Regions from separate parts of the Homo sapiens genome. Here regions 2 and 3 are each linked to region 1. Evidence: promoter capture Hi-C in 16 types of primary human blood cells and fetal thymus (Javierre and others, 2016). All regions are on one chromosome and are shown on one strand. The core of a region is centred on a gene start or on the middle of the fragment in contact, and the rest is flanking DNA. Distances in the headings are between cores, read along the strand shown. Region 1 holds the start of SULF2 (sulfatase 2). Region 2 holds the start of LOC124904924 (a long non-coding RNA gene). Region 3 has its middle 180 kb from the start of LINC01522.

What was found. The method cuts DNA at HindIII sites, captures the fragments that hold promoters and counts their contacts. A CHiCAGO score of 5 or more calls a contact.
Region 2: a contact is called between a fragment that was not itself captured here and the fragment with the promoter of SULF2 in region 1, in 1 of 17 cell types (endothelial precursors). The highest score is 11.3, in endothelial precursors.
Region 3: a contact is called between a fragment that was not itself captured here and the fragment with the promoter of SULF2 in region 1, in 1 of 17 cell types (endothelial precursors). The highest score is 5.0, in endothelial precursors.

The regions. Positions count from the first base shown.
Region 1 is chr20:47,783,194-47,786,730 of GRCh38, reverse strand. SULF2 (sulfatase 2) reads left to right here and starts at 1,250. Exons shown (of 21, transcript NM_001387048.1): 1 at 1,250-1,388. LOC124904920 (a long non-coding RNA gene) reads right to left here and starts at 977. Exons shown (of 2, transcript XR_007067618.1): 1 at 569-977; 2 at 1-326. RefSeq lists an enhancer at 1-132. The HindIII fragment of the contact is 4,753 bases long and covers 1-2,345 here.
Region 2 is chr20:48,274,970-48,278,506 of GRCh38, reverse strand. LOC124904924 (a long non-coding RNA gene) reads right to left here and starts at 2,660. Exons shown (of 2, transcript XR_007067634.1): 1 at 2,351-2,660. The HindIII fragment of the contact is 2,383 bases long and covers 663-3,045 here.
Region 3 is chr20:48,167,716-48,171,252 of GRCh38, reverse strand. No RefSeq gene overlaps it. Among named protein-coding and RNA genes, the nearest start is that of LINC01522, 180 kb to the right of the region's middle. The HindIII fragment of the contact is 3,508 bases long and covers 269-3,537 here.

The DNA of each region.
Region 1 (3,537 bases), core at 1-2,500:
CTCCGGCCTCTTCTGTGGCGCGAGGGACAGCGGAAACCACGGTAGACAGCACCCCCTTGAGTCCAATTCCTCCCCTTTCGGAGGAAGCCGGTTTCTCCTTTCTATGCTACTCCCGGGCCATTTCTGGACAACAGCTGCTATTTTCACTTGAGCCGAAGTTAATTTCTCGGGGAGTTCTCGGGCGCGCACAGGCAGCTCGGTTTGCCCTGCGATTGAGCTGCGGGTCGCGGCCGGCGCCGGCCTCTCCAATGGCAAATGTGTGTGGCTGGAGGCGAGCGCGAGGCTTTCGGCAAAGGCAGTCGAGTGTTTGCAGACCGGGGCGAGTCCTGTGAAAGCAGATAAAAGAAAACATTTATTAACGTGTCATTACGAGGGGAGCGCCCGGCCGGGGCTGTCGCACTCCCCGCGGAACATTTGGCTCCCTCCAGCTCCGAGAGAGGAGAAGAAGAAAGCGGAAAAGAGGCAGATTCACGTCGTTTCCAGCCAAGTGGACCTGATCGATGGCCCTCCTGAATTTATCACGATATTTGATTTATTAGCGATGCCCCCTGGTTTGTGTGTTACGCACACACACGTGCACACAAGGCTCTGGCTCGCTTCCCTCCCTCGTTTCCAGCTCCTGGGCGAATCCCACATCTGTTTCAACTCTCCGCCGAGGGCGAGCAGGAGCGAGAGTGTGTCGAGTGAGTGTGCGTCTGTGTGTCCCGGCGAGGGTGCGCGCTCGGCGCCGGGAGCGCGGCCAGCCGAGTCCGGAGGCATCGGGAGGTCGAGAGCCGCCGGGACCCCAGCTCTGCGTTCACTGCCCCGTCCGGAGCTGGACTTCGGGGCCGGGGCCGGGGCCGTGCGCCGGGGACAGGCAGGGCCGGGTCGCGGGCCGCGCGTCCCCCAGGCCGGAGGTAAAAGCGCTAGCGCGCGGAGGGCTCGAGGAGGGCACCGCGGCTGGGCCCCCCGCGCCCCGGGCCCCAGCCGTCCGCGGCTCCCGGCCCGACGCTCCCCGCCCCGGAGCGCGCCCGCCTCCCCTGCGTGGAGGCCGGCGGGCAGGCGAGCGGGGGGCGGTAGCGCCGTGCCAAGGGGCTGGCTGGGGCAGCGTGGCCGGCCGGGCTGGGGCGATTTAAGAGCGGTCCGGGCGGGGTGCGGAGCCGGACTTTGGCTGGGGCGGCGCGCGGGGAGGGGGCCGGGGGCGGTGGCGGCGGCGTTGGGGGGCGGGGAGGAGGCAGGAGGAGGAGCAGCAGCGCTCGCCGGGGGATGCAGCAGCGGCAGCGGCGGCGGCGGCGGCGGCAGCGGCAGCGGCGGCGCGGAGTCCCCTGCGCCCAGCGGCCCGGCCGGGCTGCGGCAGAGGCGGCGGCGGCGCCCCGCTCCGGGTGAGGTTGCCGGGGCCGTGCGCGCTGGTGAGTGGGGCGTGGGGGGCAGGTGGGTGGCTGGGGGACGCGGGGCTCGGGCGGGGGCTCGCGGCGGCCGGAGCCTTCCCCGGCGTGAGCCCGGCCGCGAGCGCCGCCCAGGTGAGCCGGGGCTGGTCCGGACCGCCCGGCTCCAGCCCCAGCGCTGCTTGCGGAGGTGGGTCCGGGCGGGCGGGAGGGAGGCTCCGGCGCCGGCCGTCCGCAGAGGGATGACCTGTTTGACCCCGCTGGCTGGCGGGCGGGCGAGGACTTCCCGCCGCGCCCCTGACCCGCGGACACGGCACACCGAGCACAGGCGGCCCCGGGTAGGGGAGCGCGCCTGGGCCGGCCATCCGCAGGGGCATGGCCTTGTTGACCCTTAGGGTTTAGACCCAAGGGACCGGTAGATGCCAGCCCACGTGGGGCTTGTCCGGGCAGGACTCGGGGAAGCAGTGGGCCGGATCTTCAGAGTGGTTGGAAACTCGCAGACACCGAAAGGACAAACAGGATCGAAAAGGCAGACTTCCTCCCAGGCCAGGGCAGAACGAGTTTCCATCGCCTGGCGGAGGGATGCTCCCCTCCCCGGCTCCTCGGGGTTTCAGAAGTCTAGCGGTGAATTCTAGGAGTGCACTTTTCCAAACATTCCTTATAGTAGTTCGTTCATTCGTTCTACAAGCATTTCTGGAGCACCCCCTCGTGCCGGGCACCGCGTTCTGTTCCAGGGAAACGCGGCTGAACAGGATCTGGCTCCTGCGCGCCAGAAGCTGCCGGTTCACTGGGAGGGCAGCAGGGTAGAGAGATGCCGTCTCGGGGTGGAAGATGGAAAGGGAAGCCTGCAATCCTAGTTTGCACACTGGCCTCGGTCCGCAACTCCCCCACCTGCACGCAGTAGGCCCAGCACACAGTAGGAAGAGCAAGCCAGACCTGCCTGTGACGACCCTCTCCTCCTCCTCCTCCCCCTTGAAAGCTTTGATTCATTCCCTGCCCCCCTTTCTGGAAAGTCTTCCTGCAGCTTGTTTTAATCACTTTTTGAGTTAAAAGTCAATATTTAATTAACCAAGTAATTACATTCAGCTTACGTTTCAATCTGGGTATTTGCTCATCTGTGCGTGTTGGGACACCCGCCCTCTCGCCCCTCCATCTGTCCCCTGCCTGTTTCCCACCGGGTCCACCCCCACTTTTGGGGCAGAGAAGGGGAGGCTGCGCTGGAGCAGGTTCTCAGGGGGAGACAGGGAGCAGGAGAGACGGGCTTTCTCTGGAGGACACCCCCGGATCTGCGCGCTCTCCAAATTTCAGCTTGTAGTGAATAGTGAAGGTGATTTCTTGACAGCCTCTGCCTCCCATTACAGAACCACCAGAGGGTTCTAATTAAATTAGAGCCAATCGTTAAGTATAGGAACGGGGTAGGGAGGACAGAACGAAGGGGGCCCCTTCCCTGTAAGAGATGTTCTCCCCAGCTTCGTCTCTCCCACATCATAGAGAAGAGAAAACTCATCCAGACAGCCTGTCGGATGTGTAATTTAGCGTTCTAATAAGCAGCTTGAAAGGCGAAGGTGGTGGGCTTGGCAGATGGCATGTTGGACCTTTGTACATGAAGGCCTCTTCCTTCCCCAGCTAAATTTATATACATAAAGGCCGTGATGTTGGCATCACTGCTGCAGCTGAGGGTCAATGTGGGTTTGGGGTTTGGGCTTTGTGTGTACTTCTTGGGTTTTTTATTTGAATTTATGGCTTTTTCTGAAACCCTAATAACATGTTAAATTTTCAAACTTGAGAGTAGAGTGATGAGTTGACTGTAAAAGTCTGGTCTTGGAGGAGGACAGCATAGCAGTGTGTGTGCATGCACGTGCATGTCCCCCAGTTCAGCTGCTGTCCAAAGAACCCAGTTGATATGCAGTTTCACACCTGATTTGGACCTGATTTGGGAGATAACATTTCCTTCTCACTTTTTCTGGCACTGGTTAGTTTATCTGCTTGGACCTGCCTCAAGAGGGCAGCTGGGTTAACCAGGCAGAATATCACCCAACTCTGTCAAGCTTTGGCCATTATCTGACCTTAGACTTTAGTCCTGCAGAAGGAGTCCAGAAGCCCTGTCCTACAGAAAAATATCAGCATTTCTGACCAGCTTGTAGTTAAAAGAAAAGGTTTAGTCCAGACTTAA
Region 2 (3,537 bases), core at 605-3,104, 490 kb before region 1:
AAGGTCCAGGCAGCTTCCTCCCGACATATTCAAATCCACCTCTGTGCCTGCCCAGCCCTGGATCTCCAGTTGGCTCTAGGAGGCCTATTCTGACCACCCAGCAATTTTCTCTTCGAACGGCACATTACTACCTTGTCATCAGGCACTCGATGAGGGCTGTCGAGGACACCTTCTAGAATCTTATCTTATTTCATCCCTTGACGTCCCAGCCACATGAACAGCAAGTGAAGCCCATGTAAATATCTGCCCCTACTAGGTTTTCCACACTCATCCCTTCCATTTTCTCCTCCATTTAAAAATCCATGTACCTTCTCACATTTTTAACACCTTATTTTTTAATCATAAGTTTAAATCATTGTATCAGAAATACTGAATATTTATATTCTAAAAGAAGACTATTACATCAATTTTAACGTGTGTCTAGTGGAAACTCAATACCATAATGATTGATACCCACCACGATTGATTTTAAAAATGCATGAAAACTCAGCTCTAATTGTTGGAAATTTTGCCTTTTTCTCCTAGAACTTCTACTCCTCTAGCCAACTTTGATGGGAGTGTATCTTACTTTTATGCTTGGAAGTCTTGTATTGATCATACTGCAACAAAAACATGTATAAATTAAAAACGGATAATATCCAGAGTTCTGTTCCTGTAAAGCTTTAAATGTTAAACATGTGATTCTGAATTTAGTTATCATTAACGATAGTGAGTAGTGCACCATTGATCAGAGAAACATAACAGCCGTGGGGCTGTTTTCTCAATTAATTCATGTATTCGTGGATGACTGTTGCTTACTATCATAAGGAGACAGGTTTCGGCCTCAACATTATCCCCCTTTTGAAAAAATTTTGATTTTGTTGCTGTAAGCAGGGTGAATCTTGTTCACGTAAATAAACAGATGGAGATTAAAGAGCTTCTGTTACATGTTATGCAATTGTTTGAATGCCTTCCATCAAAATGAGCTCCCTTGCTTTCTGGCTTGTGGTTGTGTCAGAGGCGTGTGAACCAGAGCAACTCCATCTTGAGTAGGGGCTGGGTAAAATAAGGCTAAGACCTACTGGGCTGCATTCCCAGACAATTAGGCATTCTAAGTCACAAGATGAGAGAGGAAGTTGGCCTGTATCTACAAGTCTATAAAGACCTTGCTGATAAAACAGGTTGCAGTAAAGAAGGCTGCCAAAACCCACCAAAACCAAGATGGCCATGAGAGTGACCTCTGGTCATCCTCACTGCTACACTCCCATCAGCACAAGGATGGTTTACAAATGCCATGGCAATGTCAGGAGGTTACCCTGTATGGTCTAAAAAGGGGAGGCATGAATAATCCACCCCTTGTTTAGCATATCACCAAGAAATAACCCTAAAAATGGGCAGCCAGCCACCCTCAGGTTTGCTCTATGAAGTAGCCGTTCTTTTATTCCTTTACTTTCCTAATAAACTTGCTTTCACTTCACTGTATGGACTCACCCTGAATTCTTTCTTGTGCAAGATCCAAGAACCCTCTCTTGGGGTCTGGACCGGGACCCCTTTCCTGTAACAGTTGGGTTTTGCCATGGGATAGCGAGAACAGGCAGAGATGGTAGACTGAGAGATGAGTGAGGTAGGGGTTCTTTATCCCTACTGTGGGGGAGCCCAGGCTGCCTGCCTCCACTGCAGAAGGTCACAGCTCCTGTCTGACAGCCCCCGCCTAGAGTCTCCTTTTGTCTGCAGATTCCAGAAGGCTCTTTCCCCTCACCCTCCCCAGGGCCCCACTGTTACTAGCCAGGGCCTGGCACTATTGTTTGCTATTTCCCTTCATCCGGATCACAAGTTTTAAATAATACCTTTATGAAACTTTCCTCCAATTAGCCAATGTAAGTACGCTATCTGTCTCCTGCCAGAACATTGACTGATCAATCTTTGTTTTATAAAGTGGGAGAAGAGTGTTACCAAAAGAGGATGTGGAAATGAAGAGCCCACAGAGTACCCATGTCAGTTGAGAATCTGAAAAGTGATTCTCTCAAAATGGCCTGTTGCCTGTGAACCCTTAGAAAGTCATTGTGTACCCCCAGGGTCTGAGTACTGCAATTTGATTTGATCGATCTAATACCTGACCATCCACCCTTCTGTCCTCCACCCCACGATTGCAAGAACAATATTGGGAATCTAAAACTTACTGAAAACAGCCAGTGAGTGTTTTGCCATCGAGGCTAAAGGATGCTGGAGGATCCCATATAGATAGCTATGGTGAGGGTCCTCATTGCCCTCATGGCTGAGGAAGCAGATTCCCTCCTGGAGCTGATGTCTGGGAGAGGACTGACCAGAAGAGGCTAGGACCCAGGGTTGCCTGCTTAAGTCTAGCACTTACCACCACTGAAGCGCAGCCTCTTGTTTCCTTATCCACCAGGTTTTCTGTGGCACTGAGTTAGAAATTCCAGGCAACCCACTGAGAGTTCTTTATTGCAGCAGCGGGCAACTGATCCACAATAACATGTAAAAAGATAGGGGTTCCCAGGCGGCGACAGCAGCTGCAGCTTTAAGTGGAAATTGGAGTGAAAATGTGCTGCCTCCATTTGCTGGCAGGAGGGGAGGGGTGGGTAGTGGGAAAGGGGGATGGGAGAGTGAGTGAGCTCTTGCTTCCCAGCACTGAATTGGGCTAGAAACCCCCAGGCTCCTTTGCTCACTATGTCATCACATTGAGACTGGAGGCTTCTGGCAGTGGCTGTGGGTGTGTTTGCATTAACTGCCAGCAGCAGAGCCTTTCCTTCAGAGTAATTCAGATACAAGAATTTCTCTCTCTCTCTCTCTTTCTCTCTCTAATAATCTCAGCCATCCCTGTTCAGACAGCCTCTTAGATCACAAACAATCCTGCATTAAACTTTGGTTTCTTGAATCACTGTTCGTGGTCATAAGTTTAGTGATAGTTTGAGTTATTGTTCAGCAGATAATGGGCCTTCCTGGTCCATTGATGTGGGTTTGGCTGTGTGACTTGCTTTGACCAAGGATGGTCAGAGTGTCAGAGGAAGTGACGAGACTAAAGTCATTAAATGTGCTCATGAAGCTTGCTTGCTCTTGTCCCCAGGGATCCACCATGAGGAGTGTGTCCAGAGAGGAGCTGCTCTCCCTTTAGACTATGCCCAAGATAAACACATATGGAGCAGACCTGATCCCAACCCACAGCCTGCAGCCATGCCCAGCAGAGCCCAGCCTGGATCCGCCAAGTCGTGCTTGACCTATGGACCTGAATGTAGGAATAAGTACTTATTGTTAATATACATGAATGTAAGAATTACTACCACTGAGTTGGGTTTGTGACAACTGACAAATTACTGAGCTTTCAAATTGTGCTTCACAGATACCAAGGGCAGTAGTTAAAAAAAAAAATCCTCTTCTCAAACCCAGAGTGCATTCATTCATTTATTAATTAATTAATTCTCTTAGTTATTCAACACAGTTTTTGAGCCCTCAGATGTTAGGCATTGTTGTAGGTGCTGGGGATATGGAATTTAATGAGGCAGCCATTCATGGTTCCTGCCTTCATGGTATGACCATTTT
Region 3 (3,537 bases), core at 773-3,272, 380 kb before region 1:
CACTTCATGCATCTCAGAGATGGGAGTGGTGGTGGCTGTCTCCACCCCAGGCTGGCAGCTAGACATTCCCTGTATCTTTTCAGTGACCGAGCCATCAATTCTTTATGTCTTTTTCCCTTAAGCCATTTCGAACTGGGCTTCTACAGTTTCAAACTAAAAGACTCCTATGGACTCTTTAGGCAGCACCCTACCCCCGCCACATCAAAATCAGATTTTAGGAAATGATACTGTAAGCTTCTTCCAGCCAGGTGGCAACAGCTGATAAGCTTTCCTGTGTTACCCCTCAGCACAGCATTGCCAGGAAGGCAGAAAGTCCAAGAGAGGGAGCTTAGAGATGTTTCCGGGGATCCACAGCCTTCTTCTCTATCAGCAAATTGATACTCAGAGAGGGTAAGGGGTTGGCCTGGAGTCACACAGCAAGTGAGGGCAAGAAGCCTGGTGCTCTGACCCAGGTTCCCATTTGGATACTGTGGTACCCCAGACATGCTCTTGACCCTACCAATTCCAGTGTCAGGATTCCCTGGGTTCTCTCTCTCTCTCTGCCTATCTCTGTCTCTCTGCCTCTGACTCTTTCTGTCTCCGTCTCTTTTTGCTTCTCTCTCTCCTTCAAATACATCATCACATAATGAATAGATGAACAAAATGTGGAATACCTGTACAATGCAATAGTATTTGGACATAAAAATGAATGAAATATTGATACATGCCACAGCATGGAAAAATCTTAAAAATACGCAATTCAAAAAAGCCAGGCAGGGCACAGTAGCTCGCACCTGTAATCTCACCGCTTTGGGAGGCCAAGGTGGGAGGATTGCTTGACCCCAGGAGTTTGAGACCTGCCTGGCCGACATAGTAAGAATCTGTCTCTACAACGTTTTTTAAAATTAGCCAGATGTAGTGGTGCACACCTGTAGTCTTAGCTACTGGGGAGGCTGAGGCAGGAGGATGCCTTGAGCCCAGGAGTTCGAAGTTGCAGTGAACTATGATTGTGCCACTGTACTCCAGCCTGAACAACAGAACAAGACCCATTTCTGAAAAACAAACAAACAAACAAACAAAAAAACAGGCCACATTTTGTATGTTTGTGTGATTCCATTTATATGAAATGTCCAGGATAAGCACATCCCTAGAGACAGGAGTAGATTAGTGATGGTGAAGAGTGAAGAGCCCTGACAGCTAGCAGGTGTGAGGCTTATTTGGGGAATGATGAAAACGCTCTGGAATTAGATCGTGGCGATGGTTTCATAACTTTGTGCTTCTACTAAAACCTCTAAAGCCCGTGCACAAGGCGTGCATCCTGAGGCAGAAGAGGGAATTGTTTCCAAAAGGATGGATTTTTATGGTGTGTGGGTTATATGGCAATAAAGATGTTATTAAGAAGCACCGTCATGTGACTTGGCACGTACACTCTGTTAGACGCTGAGCACTCCTGCGTCTGCGGTGCGGATGCACATGCAACGGATGCACAGGGTAAATCCACAGAGTCATGGGCACTGTCCTACAGGATATTTACAGGGTTTTCAAGGCCGATTTTGACTCTGTAAGATTTCACCTTTAGAGTAGCTGCAGAGGCTCGTGCCCCAGGTAGGATACTCGGCCACCAGCTCACCAGTGCTGGCCAGAAGAAAGAGCCAAGAATCCTAAACGTAAAAAACAAACACGATGTGTACATTCTGGGAAGATACAGAGCCCTGGAGGCTGTCTGTGGGGCTGGATTTCCTTTTTTTCAAAAGAGAGATTTTTGGCTCAGCACGGTGGCTCACACCTGTAATCCCAGCATTTTGGGAGGCTGAGGCCGGCAGATCACTTGAGGTCAGGAGTTCAAGACCAGCCTGGCCAACATGGTGAAACCCTATCTCTACTAAAAATACAAAAATTAGCCAGGCAGGGTGGCAGATGCCTGTAATCCAAGCTACTCGGGAGGCTGAGGCAGGAGAATTGCTTAAACCCAGGAGGCGGAAGTTGCAATGAGCTGAGATTGCACCACTGCACTCCAGCCTGGGTGACAGAGTGAGACTCCATCTAAAAAAAAAAAAAAGATTTTTGACTGTGCACAGAGCCTCCTGTCTATAATCCCAGCACCTTGGGAGGCCAAAGCAGGAGGATTGCTTGAGACCAGGAGTTTGAGACCAGCCTGGGCAACATAGCAAGACCCCATCTCTACAAAAAATAAATGAGTGGAGTGTGTTGGCACTAGCCTGTAGTCCCAGCTTCTTGGGAGGCTGAGGTAAGAGGTTTGCTTGAGCCCAGGAGTTCCAGGCTGCAGTGAGCTGAGATCATGCCATCACACTTCAACCTGTGTGACAGAGTGAGACCTTGTCTCAAAATAAAATAAAATAAGATAAAATAAAATAGAGAGAGATTAGCACTCATTAGTGCTTAAGGACTCCCTATAAGGAACTTGAAACTTTCTCCTTGATACAATCAGAAGGTTGAAAATGAATTTTAAAAGGCCCAATTCTGGATGGGCTACAATATATCCAATGCTGTTTCCTGGACCCCCGACCTTGTCTTCAAGACAATGAAGTCTTCAGCTGCACTTTAATCCTAGGCAATTTCATCTGTGTGTACACAGCACCGGCCATCTCAGCTGCTCTCCAAGCGCTGGGCCCCACACAAGCATGGAATGGGAGCCCACACCCAGCCTCCCAGACTCTGTGCTCTTCCCTGCTCTGCTCCTGCCTGAACATCTCACCCAGGCAAATGCAACTGTGCTCTTTAAAGACAGACAATTTTTCCTACCATATGACTGGCCCCTAAAGTCAGCCAACTCGTTCATCCAGGACTCAACTAGAAAAAATGGATGCCGTGTCTCAGCGCTGGAGGGAAATGCTATGTCAGACTCACCAAAAAAATGATGCGTCCAGATATACCAAACTCAACGGGCAATGGTGCTCTTGTGCCATTTTTGTCTCATACTCCATCCTCAGGATCCAACATAATCCTCACTGTGCGCTGGGGGCCTGGGGGAGGGAACCGTGGGATGGCTTCAGTTCTGGCTGTCAGCTATTGAGCACTCACTGTGGGCCTGCCACATCTAAATCCTTTGCAGGCATTAACTCATTAATGCTCACGACAGCCCAGTGAGATCCACGTTATTACCCACATTCAATATCCAATAATATGAGGCTCAGGAGGCTACTGACATCACCTGAAATAACAGAGCTGCCAAGAGGGGCAGCTGGGACATGAGCTCCAGGGTCTGTTTCCCTTTGCCATCTGGAGTCATTGCCTGCAGGACAGATAGGAGTCATGTCCAGGTGTGAATGGTCCCCACTCTGCTTTGGAGGCTCTTGCTGTGCACTGGCCTCCTCCGATAAAGGGCCAGCCTCTGGCCAGGGGCAGGCAACCAAGCAGGAGTGTGACGTTCCCACAGTACCAAGTGCCAGCAAGAACACGGAGCTACCACGCATGATGCTGGGGGCCATAGACACTGACGCCAACCCTTTGGAAAGTTTGGCATTGTCTACTGGAGATGAAGATGTGAAGACCCTCTGGCCCTAGCAATTGCACACTTGGTATATCCCCAGCAGAAAT